Linked DNA regions of Homo sapiens: all the other regions are linked to region 3. The links are contacts of gene promoters, found by promoter capture Hi-C in blood cells and fetal thymus (Javierre and others, 2016). All regions are on one chromosome and are shown on one strand. Each heading gives the region's core, a stretch centred on a gene start or on the middle of the fragment in contact. The rest is flanking DNA. Distances are from core to core; before and after follow the strand shown.

What was found. The method cuts DNA at HindIII sites, captures the fragments that hold promoters and counts their contacts. A CHiCAGO score of 5 or more calls a contact.
Region 1: a fragment that was not itself captured here is called in contact with the fragment with the promoter of PRELP in region 3 in 1 of 17 cell types (naive B cells); the score reaches 5.4 in naive B cells.
Region 2: a contact is called between a fragment that was not itself captured here and the fragment with the promoter of PRELP in region 3, in 1 of 17 cell types (total CD8 T cells). The highest score is 5.4, in total CD8 T cells.

The regions. Positions count from the first base shown.
Region 1 is chr1:203,233,115-203,236,942 of GRCh38, reverse strand. No RefSeq gene overlaps it. Among named protein-coding and RNA genes, the nearest start is that of CHIT1, 5.4 kb to the right of the region's middle. The HindIII fragment of the contact is 2,393 bases long and covers 1,110-3,502 here.
Region 2 is chr1:203,252,111-203,256,238 of GRCh38, reverse strand. It overlaps the pseudogene NPM1P40. Among named protein-coding and RNA genes, the nearest start is that of CHIT1, 25 kb to the right of the region's middle. The HindIII fragment of the contact is 3,202 bases long and covers 1,223-4,128 here.
Region 3 is chr1:203,472,787-203,477,183 of GRCh38, reverse strand. It overlaps PRELP (proline and arginine rich end leucine rich repeat protein), which reads right to left and starts at 1,378. Exons shown (of 3, transcript NM_002725.4): 1 at 1,246-1,378. The HindIII fragment of the contact is 1,499 bases long and covers 1,015-2,513 here.

The DNA of each region.
Region 1 (3,828 bases), core at 1,057-3,556, 240 kb after region 3:
AACTCTCCAGCAGACACCAACAGGGTATCCTATAATTTAATTCCATTCTGACACTATCCATCTGGAGTGAGTCAGATCTACAGGCTGAGGGCTCAGTCCCACAAGGCTGCCCCCACTTCAGAGGCCAATCACAAGTCCCAGGTGGTGAGCTGTGCTTCAATCAAGCAGCTAAAAACTGGGGTTCCCATGACGCCCTTCCTCTGCTCTTCCTCTGCTAGAGCAGCTCACAGAACTCACAAAAACACTTACTTACATTGACCCATTGATTTAAAGGATATTACAAAGGATACAGAGGAGCAGCCAGATGGAAGAGATGCATAGTGCGAGGAAGATGGGAAGGGGCTTGGAGCTGCTCTCCTCTCTCCATGTGTTCAGTAGCCTTGAAGCTCTTTAAACCCCATGGATCATGGATTTTGTTTGTTTGTTTGTTTGTTTGTTTGTCTGTAGAAAGGGGGTCTCACTAGGTTGAGACCTAGTTGTTCAGGAGGTCAAGGTTGTTCAGGCTGGTCTCAAACTCCTGAACTCAAGAAATCCTCCTGCCTCTGCACCCCAAAGTGCTGGGATTTCAGGCATAAGCCACTGCACCCAGCCTAGTTAATGGACTTTTATGCAGGCTTCCCCACATAAGCATGATTACGTGGTCTTCAGCCCCACTCCCCTTCCCAGAGGATGGGGGGTGGAGCTGAAGGTTCCAAACTTCTCATCATGGCTTGGTCTTTCTGGTGACCAACCCCCCTCCAGATGCCCACAAAGAGGCACCTCTTTGGAACAAAAGATGCTCCTAGTACCCAGGAAGTTCCAAGGGCTTAGGAGTTCTGTGTCAAAACTAGGGTCAAAGGCTAAACATTAGAACAAGAGATGCACCTAGAACCCCTATTTCTCAAGAAATTTTAAGGGTTTTAGGAGCTCCGTGCCAGAAATTGGGGACAAAGACCAAATATACATTTCTTATATCACAATATCATAGTGGGCCAGATCATGCAGAGAGGTCACATTAATTAATTAATTAATTCAATAGATATGGATTAAGCACCTACTATGTGCTGGGAAATATTCTGGGTACTAGACAAAGAGGACTAAACAAGAAAAGTCCCTCCTCTCATGAAGCTTACATTCTAGTGGTAGGAAACAGACACTACACACAAATGAATGAATGAATGAATGAATTCAGCCATGAAAGTACTTAGGAGAAAATAAATCATCAGGAGAGAACAGAGAGTGACTTGAGGGGAGGGCACTACTTTCTATGAGTGGTCAGGAAAAGCATGAATGAGGAGAAGGAGCCAGCTGTGTGAAGATCACAGAGAAGAACATTGTGGGCAGAGGCAATGGCAGGTGCAAAGGTATCAGGAGAACCCGCCCCTGAATATTCAACGTGGGCCCTTTTCTATTTTTCCTAAGTGTCAGTCGGTCTGAGAAATAAAGGGAAAGAGTACAAAAGAGAGAAATTTTAAAGCTGGGTGTCCGGGGGAGACATCACATGTCAGCAGGTTCCATGATGCCCCCCAAGCTGCAAAACCAGCAAGTTTTTATTAGTGATTTTCGAAAGGGGAGGGAGTGTATGAATAGGGTGTGGGTCACAAAGATCACATGCTTCACAAGGTAATAAAATATTACAAGGCAAATGGAGGCAGGGCGAGATCACAGGACCGGGGCGAAATTAAAATTGCTAATGAAGTTTCGGGCATGCATTGTCATTGATGACATCTTATCAGGAGACAGGGTTTGAGAGCAGACAAGCGGTCTGACCAAAATTTATTAAGCAGGAATTTCCTCATCCTAATAAGCCTGGGAGTGCTACGGGAGACTGGTGCTTATTTCATCCCTTATCTACAACAGTAAAAGACAGATGTCCCCAGAGCGGCCATTTTAGAGACCTCCCCCTAGGAATGCATTCTCTTTCTCAGGGATGTTCCTTGCTGAGAAAAAGAATTCAGCGATATTTCTCCTATTTGCTTTTGAAAGAAGAGAAATATAGCTCTGTCCCACCTGGCTGTCAGGCAGCCAGACCTAATGGTTATCTCCCTTGTTCCCTGAACATCGCTGTTATCCTGTTCTTTTTTCAAGGTGCCCAGATTTCATATTGTTTAAACAATTTATGCAGTTAACGCAATCCTCACGGAGTCCTGAGGCAACATACATCCTCAGTTTACAAAGATGGCGGGATTAAGAGATTAAAGTAAAGACAGGCATAGGAAATCACAAGAATATTGATTGGGGAAGTGATAAATGTCCATGAAATCTTCACAATTTATGTTCAGAGATTGCAGTAAAGACAGGCGTAAGAAATTATAAAAGTATTAATTTGAGGAACTAATAAATGTCCATGAAATTTTCACAATTTATGTTCTTCTGCCATGGCTTCAGCCGGTCCCTCCGTTCAGGGTCCCTGACTTCCCGCAACATCTCTCCCTTTCTTTTTATATAAATGTGCCATGGCGATGAAGGCTTGTTCATTCTCTCGATTTTGATGCAGGATTCTTTGACTTGTCTGACACACTAAAGACAAGCTGGTTAAACAGAGAAACATAATTCCAAAATTTACTAGAGTGGGGCCTCCAATAGACTTAATCAAAGTCGTGGGGTTTAGTCCATAAAGATTTTCTGCCACCTGATCTAACGCCTCAGCTCCAGGCACAATGGATAAGTGAGCCTGAGAGGCTTCAAAAATTTGTTTTTTTAATTTAGTTATGTCCAGTGATAAATTATCTTCCCTGCCAAGAAGGTGTCCTTTGAAAGAACATTGTCCTAATGAAAGAATAGAGTTAGAGTGTTCTAGAGGTAGAGTTAAGGAGTTGATATTTTATTTTAAGTGGGAACCATTGCAAGGTCTTAGCAGGAAAGCAACAGGATCTGATTTAAGTTTCTCAAAGTGTACTCTGGCTGCTGTGTGGAGAATGGATTGCAGAGGCAAGAGAATTAGGAAGGAAGGCAGGTAGGAGGCTCTTCTGGGGACAGGGTGGGAGTTGACGGTGGTTAGGAGGTGGAGGAGATGGAGCAGGAGGCAGGATGTCTAATAGGTCCTGATCATTGAGGGTGAGGAAAGGGAAGGATCAAGGACACTTCCTGGGTGACTTGGAGACCCGGATAGGTGGTGATGTCTTTTACTGCTAAGGGGAAGAACACGGTGGGACGTGGGAAGGAACAGTTAACAAACATTAATTGAAGACCCCCTGTATGCTTGGTGCTGAGGGACACATAGAGAGGTGTGGAGAGAGGCCCCACTCTGCCTGGCTATGGACAGTCCAGCTACAGAGATGAGATGCTCACATGAAGCAAGAGAAAAAGGTGTGATACCAACCATCAAGATGCAGTCCCATGAGATCTGGCTGGCGTCCTCCCACCTACAAAGCCCTCTCACACATTATCTATTCGATCCACATCATTACCAAATAAGATAGGTAGTATTATCCCCATTTTACAGATGAGAAAACCAAGGCTTGGAGAGGCTGTGACTAGCCCCAGCTCAGCCAGCCAGGTTGGATGCAAATCAGCAGAAGCTTTAGAATTTCTATACAGGCATCTGCTCTGCAGTAGGGTGGGACGGGGACTTGCTTTGAAGCCTCATTTTATATCAAGCACACTGGTTTTACTTGGTTTGGGCTTTGGCAGTGGCTGAGAAAGGGGTGGGAGAAGCCAATGGGGCTGGAAAGGAGAGTATAAAATCTATGAAAGTAATTTATTGGTGATATCCATTGAGATACACCCAGTTCTGTCTGTCTCCAAGCCAGGGTTCTTTCCTATTCTGGATGGAAGGAGTTGTTCCAAGATAGCAGAAGGTAGTATGGAGTACATTGACTGTGGAAGAGGCAAGGCTTAACTCAGAGT
Region 2 (4,128 bases), core at 1,574-4,073, 220 kb after region 3:
ATCATCATCATCTTCTTCTTCATCTTCATCTTCATCATCATTTGCATCAGCAGCAAGTTTTACTTTTTCCTCTGGAAACTTGCTACCACCTCCAGGGGCAGACCGCTTTCCAGATATACTTAAGAGTTTCACATCTTCCTCCTCTTCATCTTCTGGCTCTGCATCTTCGTCCTAAGTGCTGTCCACTAATATGCACTGGCCCTGAACCACACTTCAGCCGTAAGACCACTGGTAGTGTGATTTCAAAGCCCCCAGAGGAAACCATTGGCTGTATAGACATTTTGAAAGTTGACAGTGTTACTTTAACTGGAATGCCTTCATAATTCATTGCCTCTGCTTCAACAATGTGCAATTCATCCTTTGTAGCAGCCCCTAAACTGGCCGTTATTAAAGATAACTGGTGCTCATTTTCATCATTATCCACCTTAAAGTGATAATCTTTGTCGACCTTTAGTTAACAACCAAAAAGATAGCTCTGGGGCCTCAGGGGGCTCATGTACACATTCAAGTTTTAAAATGAGTTTACAGCAATTCAGTTAGATCTTCAGGATCCACTTCTAATTCTAGTTATCTTGCTATTTCCACGTATGAAGTCACTTCCTCCAATGAAGTGTTAAGCCCCTCACAGTCATTCATGAAGTTGAAAACAACTTTTTCCAAACTCTTGTTAATGTTGATATTCTAACCTCTCATGAATCACAAATGTTCTTAATGGCATCCAGAATGGTGAATCCTTTCCAGAAGATTTACATTTACTTTGCCCAGATCCATCAGAAGAATCAGTATCTAGGGCAGCTATAACCTAACAAAATGTATTTCTTAAATAATAAGACTTGAAAATTGAAATTATTTCTTGATCCATGGGCTGCAGAATGGATGTTGTGCTAGTGGGCATGAAAACAACATTCATCTCCTTGTACATCTCCATCAGAACTCTTGGGTGACCAGGCTTATTGTCAATGAGCAATAATATTTTGAAATGAATCTTTTTTTCTGAGTAGCATGTCTCTATAGTGAGCTTAAAATATTCAGTAAACTATGCTGTAAACAGATGTCCTGTCATCCAGGCTTTGTTGTTCAATTTATAGAGCACAGGCAGATCAGATTTAGTATAATTCTTAAAAGCTCTAGAATTTCCAAAATGGTAAATAAGCATTGGTTTCAACTTAAAGCCACCAGCTGCATTAGCCCCTAACAAGAGAGTCAGCTGTCCTTTGAAGCTTTGAAGCTAGGCATTGACTTCTCCTCTCTAACTGTGAAAGTCCCAGATGGCATCTGCTTTCAATAGAAGCCTGTTTTATCTACATTGAAAAGCTGTTGTTTAGTGTAGCCACCTTCATCAATGATCTTAGCTAGATCTTCTGGATAACTTGCTGCAGCTTCTACATCAACACTTGCACTTTTATGTTATGGAGATGGCTTCTTCCCTTAAACCTCATGAACCAACTTCTGCTAGCTTCAAACTTTTCTTCTGCAGCTTCCTGACCTCTCTCAGCCTTCCTCCATAGTACAGAAGAGAGTTAGCCTTGTTCTGAATTAGGCTTTGGCTTTGGGAATGTCGTGGCTGGTTTGATCTATCCAGACCACTCAAACTTTCTCCACATCAGCAATAAAGTGGTTTTGCTTTATGTGTTCACTGGAGTAGCACTTTTAATTTTCTTCAAGAAATTTTTCTTTGCATTTAAAACTTGGCTGTTTGGTACAAGAGGACCAGCCTTTAGCCCATCTCAGCCTTTGACGTGTCTTCCTCACTAACCTTAATCATTTCTAGCATTTTATTTAAAGCAAGAGACATATGACTCTTCCTTTCACTAGAACACTTAGAGGCTATTATTGTAAGATTATCAATTGGCCTAATTTCAATGTTTTCATGTCTCAGGGAATAGGGAGGCCCGAGGAAAAGAGAGACGGGGAATAGCCATTTGGTGGAGGAGTGAGAACACACACAAGATGGATCAATTAAGTTTGCTGTCTTTTCATGGCACCCCAAAACAATTACAATAGTAACATCAAAGATCACTGATCACAGATCACAATAACAGATATGCTACTATTAATAATAAAGTTTGAAATGTTTTAAGAATTATCAAAATGTGACACAGAGACACAAAGTAAGCATGTGCTATTGGAAAAATGGTGCCAAAAGATTTGCTTGACACAGGGTTGCCACAAGCCTTCAATTTGTATAAAATGTAATATCTGTGAAGCACAATAAAATAAAGTGCAATAAAATGAGATATGCCTGTGTTGGAAGAAAAAACCTGCCAACTAAGAATGCTAGATCCAACAAAACTGTCCTTCAAAAACAAAGATGAAATTACAACTTTCCCAAATAAATAAAATTTGAGGGAGTTTATCACCACTAGTCCTGACCTACAAGAAATGCTGAAGGGAGTCCCTGAAGTTGAGGTAAAGGGACAAAATGCAATTCAAAAAAAAAAAAAGAAAATATTAAATTCTCTGGTAAATATATAGATAAATATAGAATCTTGTAGTATTGTAATGTGTGTAAATCTCTTCTAAATCTCATAGAATTCAAAAAACAAAAGCATAGAAAGTAATTATAAATCTATGGTAATGGATATGCAATATAAAAAAGGTAATTTGAGTCATCAGTAACATAAAGGTGGGGTGGACTGAGATGTAAAGAAGCAGAGTTTTAGATGCAATTGAAGCTAAGTTGTTATCAGCTTAAAATAGATTGTTATGATATTACCCATATTCTTCCAGTCTTCTGCCAAAAGATCTGAATCTACAATTGTCCCAGTGGTACTGAATTACTTATCTGATGATTAAGAATGAAAGAGCCGTTTTCTTTGCAGTCCAAAGGCAAACTTCTGTAGGGAATTCTAGCTAGGGAAAGTGTTATACCCTCTTCTTATTAGTTTCCCCCAGGGAGGAAAGAGTGTGTCTATGGAGAAATCTAATTACAATTTTCTTTGCCCTTTTTGAAATACAAAGGGACAGATTTTCCCCTAATTTATCTATGGAGACACACCTATGTAAGAGAACAGGCAAACAAGTAAGCAAGCAAGCAGTTTTTCTGAATTAAGGGGCTTTAATCAGGAAACCACCACATGGTACTCATTAAAAGTAGATTGTTAAAACATTAAGAGGTTATGTTTCACGTAATTGCAATGGTTACCACAAAGACAGTAACTATAGAATGTAAGTGCTATGATTTGAATATGGTTTATCCCCCACTGAAATTCATGTTAAGGCTTGTTCCCCATGTAATGGTGTTGAGAACTGGTGGGACCTTTAAGAGGCATTTGGGTCATAAGCCATCTGTCCTTATGAAGGGATTAATGCCATTTCACAGGAGTGAATTATTGCTCTTCAGTGACTGGATTAGTTACCGCAAGAGTGGGTTGTTATAAAGTGAGGTCACCCCTCATGTTTTCTCTCTTGTGTGTGTACCCGCTCAGTGCTCTCACATGCATAACCACCATGTGATGCCATCCTCCATGTTATGACACAGCATGAGACCCTCGTCAGATGCAGCTGTTTGATCTTGAACTTCCCAGCATCAAGAACTGTGAGCTAAACAAACCTCTTTTTAAAAAATAAATTACCTGGTCTCAAGTATTCTGTTACAGCAACAGAAAATGGACAAAGACTGTAAAGGAAAGGAAGTGAGAAGGGAATCAAAATCTGTGGCCACAAAAAAAAATTAATGAAACACAAAAGAAATTATCAAAAGAAAAAAGGGGGGGGGGACAAAGAAAGCTACAAGTGAAACAGAACACAATGAACAAAATGGCAACAGTAAGTCCTTCACTATCAGCAATTTCTTAAAATGTAAATGCCATTATGAGCAATTATATGCCAACAATTGGATTTGGCAATAATTTCTTGGATATGATACCAAAAGCACAGGCAACAAAATAAAAAATAGACAAATAGTACTACATAAAACTTAAGTTTTTTTACACATCAAAGTAACAGTCAACAGAGAGAAAAGGCAACCTATGGAATGGGAGAAAAGAGTTGCAAGTCATATATCTGATAAGGGGTCAATATCCAGAATATATAAGGATCTTGTACAACTTAACAACAAGAAAAACCCCAAATAATCCAATTTAAAAACTGGCAAAGGATTTAAATAGACATTTCTCCAAAGAAGAT
Region 3 (4,397 bases), core at 129-2,628:
TAGATCTGCAGTGAGAGCCGACATCTGTATTTTTAGTAAGCCCTCCACACTCCTCCCTCTCCAGCCCTTAGGTGACTGTGAAGATCAGCTGTGTGTGGGACCCCTGATCTCCCTACACCCCGCCTGCCTTGGGACAGACCCTCTCTATTAATAGAGAGGAATGAGCAGGGGAGCAGGAGAGGGGCCGCCCTTCAGTTTTCCCCTCCCCAACTGCTTAAGGAACTGCTGCCTTTTTTTTTTTTTCTCCTCTGCCACAGGACCTTTTGCCAACCTAAATGGTTGGAATAATTTCAGAACGGCTTTAAAGAAAAATATTTTTCTGGCTGCCTGCAGGAAAAAAAAATAAAAAAATGAACTGTCCCCAGAGCTGGGAATTAGGACCTTCAAGGATTGGGAACTGGGTCGCTTTCTTCTTTCTTTCCAAAAGCCAAGTGGTTTGGACCAGTGAGACAGAAATTGAAAGCTGCTGAGAAGACACTGTGCAGGTTGGAAAAAGCCGTTTTTCTCTCCCTCCTACCCAGTGAAGCCCTAAATAATGAAGAAACCCTTCCAGCTCCCGCTCTTGCTTATCTCCTCCCTATTCGGCCTGGACTTGGGATGCAAGATTTTCTTCTGGCTCTGCCATCTCAGTGGGAAAACGTACTTTATCTTTGCTCTTACAGCTAGGGAGGTGTGTGTGAGAGGGCGAGAGACAAGATGCAGGGAACATGTGTGCATGCATGTGTGTGTGTGTCTGCTGGTGTCTGGTGATGATGTGGTCTAGCTCTGCATGTCAGATGCAGAGGGCAGAGGTGAATGGACAGGATGTCTTCATTTTGTATGGTCGTGTGGGGTGATGGTAGTGAACGTGCAGCCTCCGTGTGATGTGTGTGACTTCCACAATGTGTGACAATACACAAAAGGTGCAAAGAAATGGGTTCTGGAGTCCAGTTTCTATGGAAACACCTGATCTGTAGAAACACTTTGTGCAGCGTGGCTCTCTGTGCTACAACAAACATCTGCAGCAGGAAAGCTTAACTTTTGCAGTAAGCAAATATAGGGGTACAGAGTGATGAAAAGAAAAGGAAGAGGCTATAGGAAAGAAGTTAGGAAGACTAAATTTGAACTCATTTGAGAGGAGAAAGAGGTGGGAGGAAGGAAGGAGTGAGAGGATAGAGACTAGATCAATAAATGGACAGAGCTGGAGGAAACTTACTGGATGAAAGATTCTTCCCAGTCTCCTGCCCATCTCCCAACTGGGCTTACCTGCACACACCTGCCTCTCCTCTCAGCTCTGAGTTTAGTCCTCCTCTTCCACCCCCTCCCTTCGGCGGAGCTGTGGCAGCAGAGAGCCAGCTAGAAGATCTGATCTCCCAGTGGTGTGTGCGTGCTTGTGTTTGCCTGACTTTTCTTCCACCAGATCCTATTGGGGTGGGGAGGTTAGCTTGGGGGGAGGGAGGGGCAGATCATAGGGAGGGAGGGGAGGAGAGGAGGGAGGAGGGAGGGAGGGGAGGGGAGGAGAGAGGGAGGGAGCTTGGGAAAGGAGGAATGACAATAAAGTCTTTATTTGGCAGCCAAAACTCCCAAAGACTTCATCCACACACCATTCCCACTAACAGACTCATTTTTAATAACATTTCCTTCTGCTGCTGCCGCTTCTGGAGAGGGGTTGTTTGACCCATGTTTGGAAAACAAGCCAAATTAACAGAGTGAAAAGGCATGAAAAGCAACCTCTGTGTAAGCCAGGACTGGATGGCTGGGTCCAGCACTAGCCTGTTTAATTCCTCCTAACAATCGCCTTGCCTTCTGGGGCCGTTGCTCGGTAGTGTTAAATTCCTAAACCAGTGAGGGGTTTGGGATGCTTCCTCTGAGCAGTGACAGTCTTTCCCTAAGTTATCTTCTCCAGGAGGTTGCAAAGGGAGTGGAGTCTCAGGCTGGCATAGGAGATAACTTCGGTTTGGCTGCCAGGGCTGTTCTGAGAACCAGAGAGGGAGAAGTCTGGCCTGAGTTGCACAGCAAAGTTAAGGCAGAATTAAGATTTAATGTAAGACCTAAAGTCACTGTTCCTAGCTCATGTGGACAATGTAGTGGCTTCTTTCAGCTTCTCCATATCACACTTAGGTGAGATTTAGGGGCTGTGTGGTCATCACACAAAGTGATGGGAAATCCAAATTTCCCCTGTGCACATCAACACCCCAGAAGACCCAGTCAAGTAACACCACTACCTCTAACAATCCTCTAACAATGCCCCTCAATTAAGAAAGCACAACACACTTGCAGGTAAGTAGATGCCCATCAAAATTTCCTGCCATGGCCAGGCACAGTGGCTCACGCCTGTAATCCCAGTACTGTGGGAGGCAGAGGCAGGCGGATCACCTGAGGTCAGGAGTTTGAGGCCAACCTGGCCAACATGGTGAAACCCTGTCTGTACTAAAAATACAAAAAAATTAGCTGGGTGTGGTGGCGGGCATCTGTAGTCCCAGCTACTAGGGAGGCTGAGGCAGGAGAATTGCTTGAACCTGGGAGGCAAAGCTTGCAGTGAGCCAAGATCGTGCCACTGCACTCCAGCCTGGGCAACAAGAGCGTGACTCTGTCTCAAAAAATAAATAAGTAAATAAAATAAATAAATTCCTGCCATCCCAGCTGACTACTTAGAAAATGCAACGCAATTTTCTTCTCCATTATTGGTTCCATGGAGAGCTGCAGAGCCCCATGACAGGGGACTGCCTGCCTGCCCTCCGCAATATGGGGTAGAGGAGAGAACATTAAAATTAGGGTCTGCAGCCCTGGGCTCAGCCACCCACAAGCTATGGTCTTAGGTGAATCACTTGATCATGAGGACCTTCAGTTTCCTCATTTACAAAATATGGATAATATTGACCTCACAGGGTTGGGAAGATTAAATATTGTAAATGTGAGAGCACTTTATAAACTGGGAAGATATTAGGGTTTAGGAAAGGGATTGCGATGAATGGTAATTAGCCTAAGAAAAGGAGAAGGAAAAATAAAACCCAGACCTTTCTCCAACCCCCTTCCACCCCAGATCTCATGGCTTCACGCCCTGCTGGTGAGGTCTTGCTGGAAGACAGCACGGTTCCTCTCCAGGTTCACATTAACTGTGGCTCTGCCAGGCTGCTCATGTGCTTCATTTCTCATCCAGATGGGATATGGCGTCTTCTGCAGGCCGGGAACATCAGACGCCAGATTTGCTTGTTTCCCTTGGTATGGTGGGTGGTAGATGATAGAGGGCAAAAAAGACTGGCTGGGCACGGAGACTCATGTCTGTAATCCCAGCACTATGGGAGACGAAGGCAGAAGATTAATGGAGCCCAGGAGTTCGAGACCAGCCTGGGCCATATGGGGGGACCCTGTTTGTACAAATAATTTAAAAATTAGCTGGGTGTGGTGGTGTGTACCTGAAGTCCCAGCTACTTAGGAGACTGAGGTGAGAGGATTATTTGAGGCCAGGAGACCAAGGCTGTAATGAGCTATGATTACGCCAGTGCCCTCCAGCCTGGGTCACAGAGCAAGACCCTGTCTCAAAAAATAATAAGGTGAGCAAAGTACAGTGAGGTACAGGGATGATGGGTAGAGTGTCTGTGGGGATAGACAGACTGGAAGGAGTGTGGAGTATGGGCAGGGGCAGGGGTGTCACCTGTATCCATTTGTATGACAGCCATCCAAATCCCAAGAGTCTATGCTCTCGGGAATGGATGGCCAACTTCCAAGCCCTGCCTAAGCCAGTTATCTCCCTTCCTCCCTCTCCTATCTCCCGCATCCCACGCTATGCAGAGAGAATTGGAAAGAAGTATAGACATGGCCAGCAGGATATTCAGGAGTGTCCAGAATAGAGTTTGCTAATCAGTGGCTTGTGGACCTAATATGGCTTGAGTACCTAATTTTTTTTGACAGCACGTTAATTTTTTAAAAGTTTTGTGGAAATTTTAAAACGTATACATATTTACACAGTATAGTATTAATATCCCCATTATCTAATACCTAGCTTCAACAATTACCGACTCATGGCCAATCTTGTTTCTTCTGTGTTCCCCACTCCCACAAACCCTACTGGTATATTTTGAAGCATTGGTTAAAAAAAAAAAAAAGGATTTGAACACCTTTAGTCAGGACAAGCACTTCCCAGTTCAACACAGTCGCCATCCTGGTAGACAGGGGTCCAGGTTCTTGGGACCTGGCTTTGCCCCATTGCATGCTGTGTGACCTTGAAGATGTCTCTCTCCCTCTCTGACCTCAGTTTGCCATTTATAAAACACGAGGTTGTACCAAATGACCTCTCAGTGCTCTTCCAACAATACTGTGAAGAGAGAGTATAAGGTTTGGGGTTAGGAAACCTGGATTAAGATGTCAACTCTGCTGTTCTCTAGCTACCTGGTGAGTAGGTCTCAGCACACGAGCCT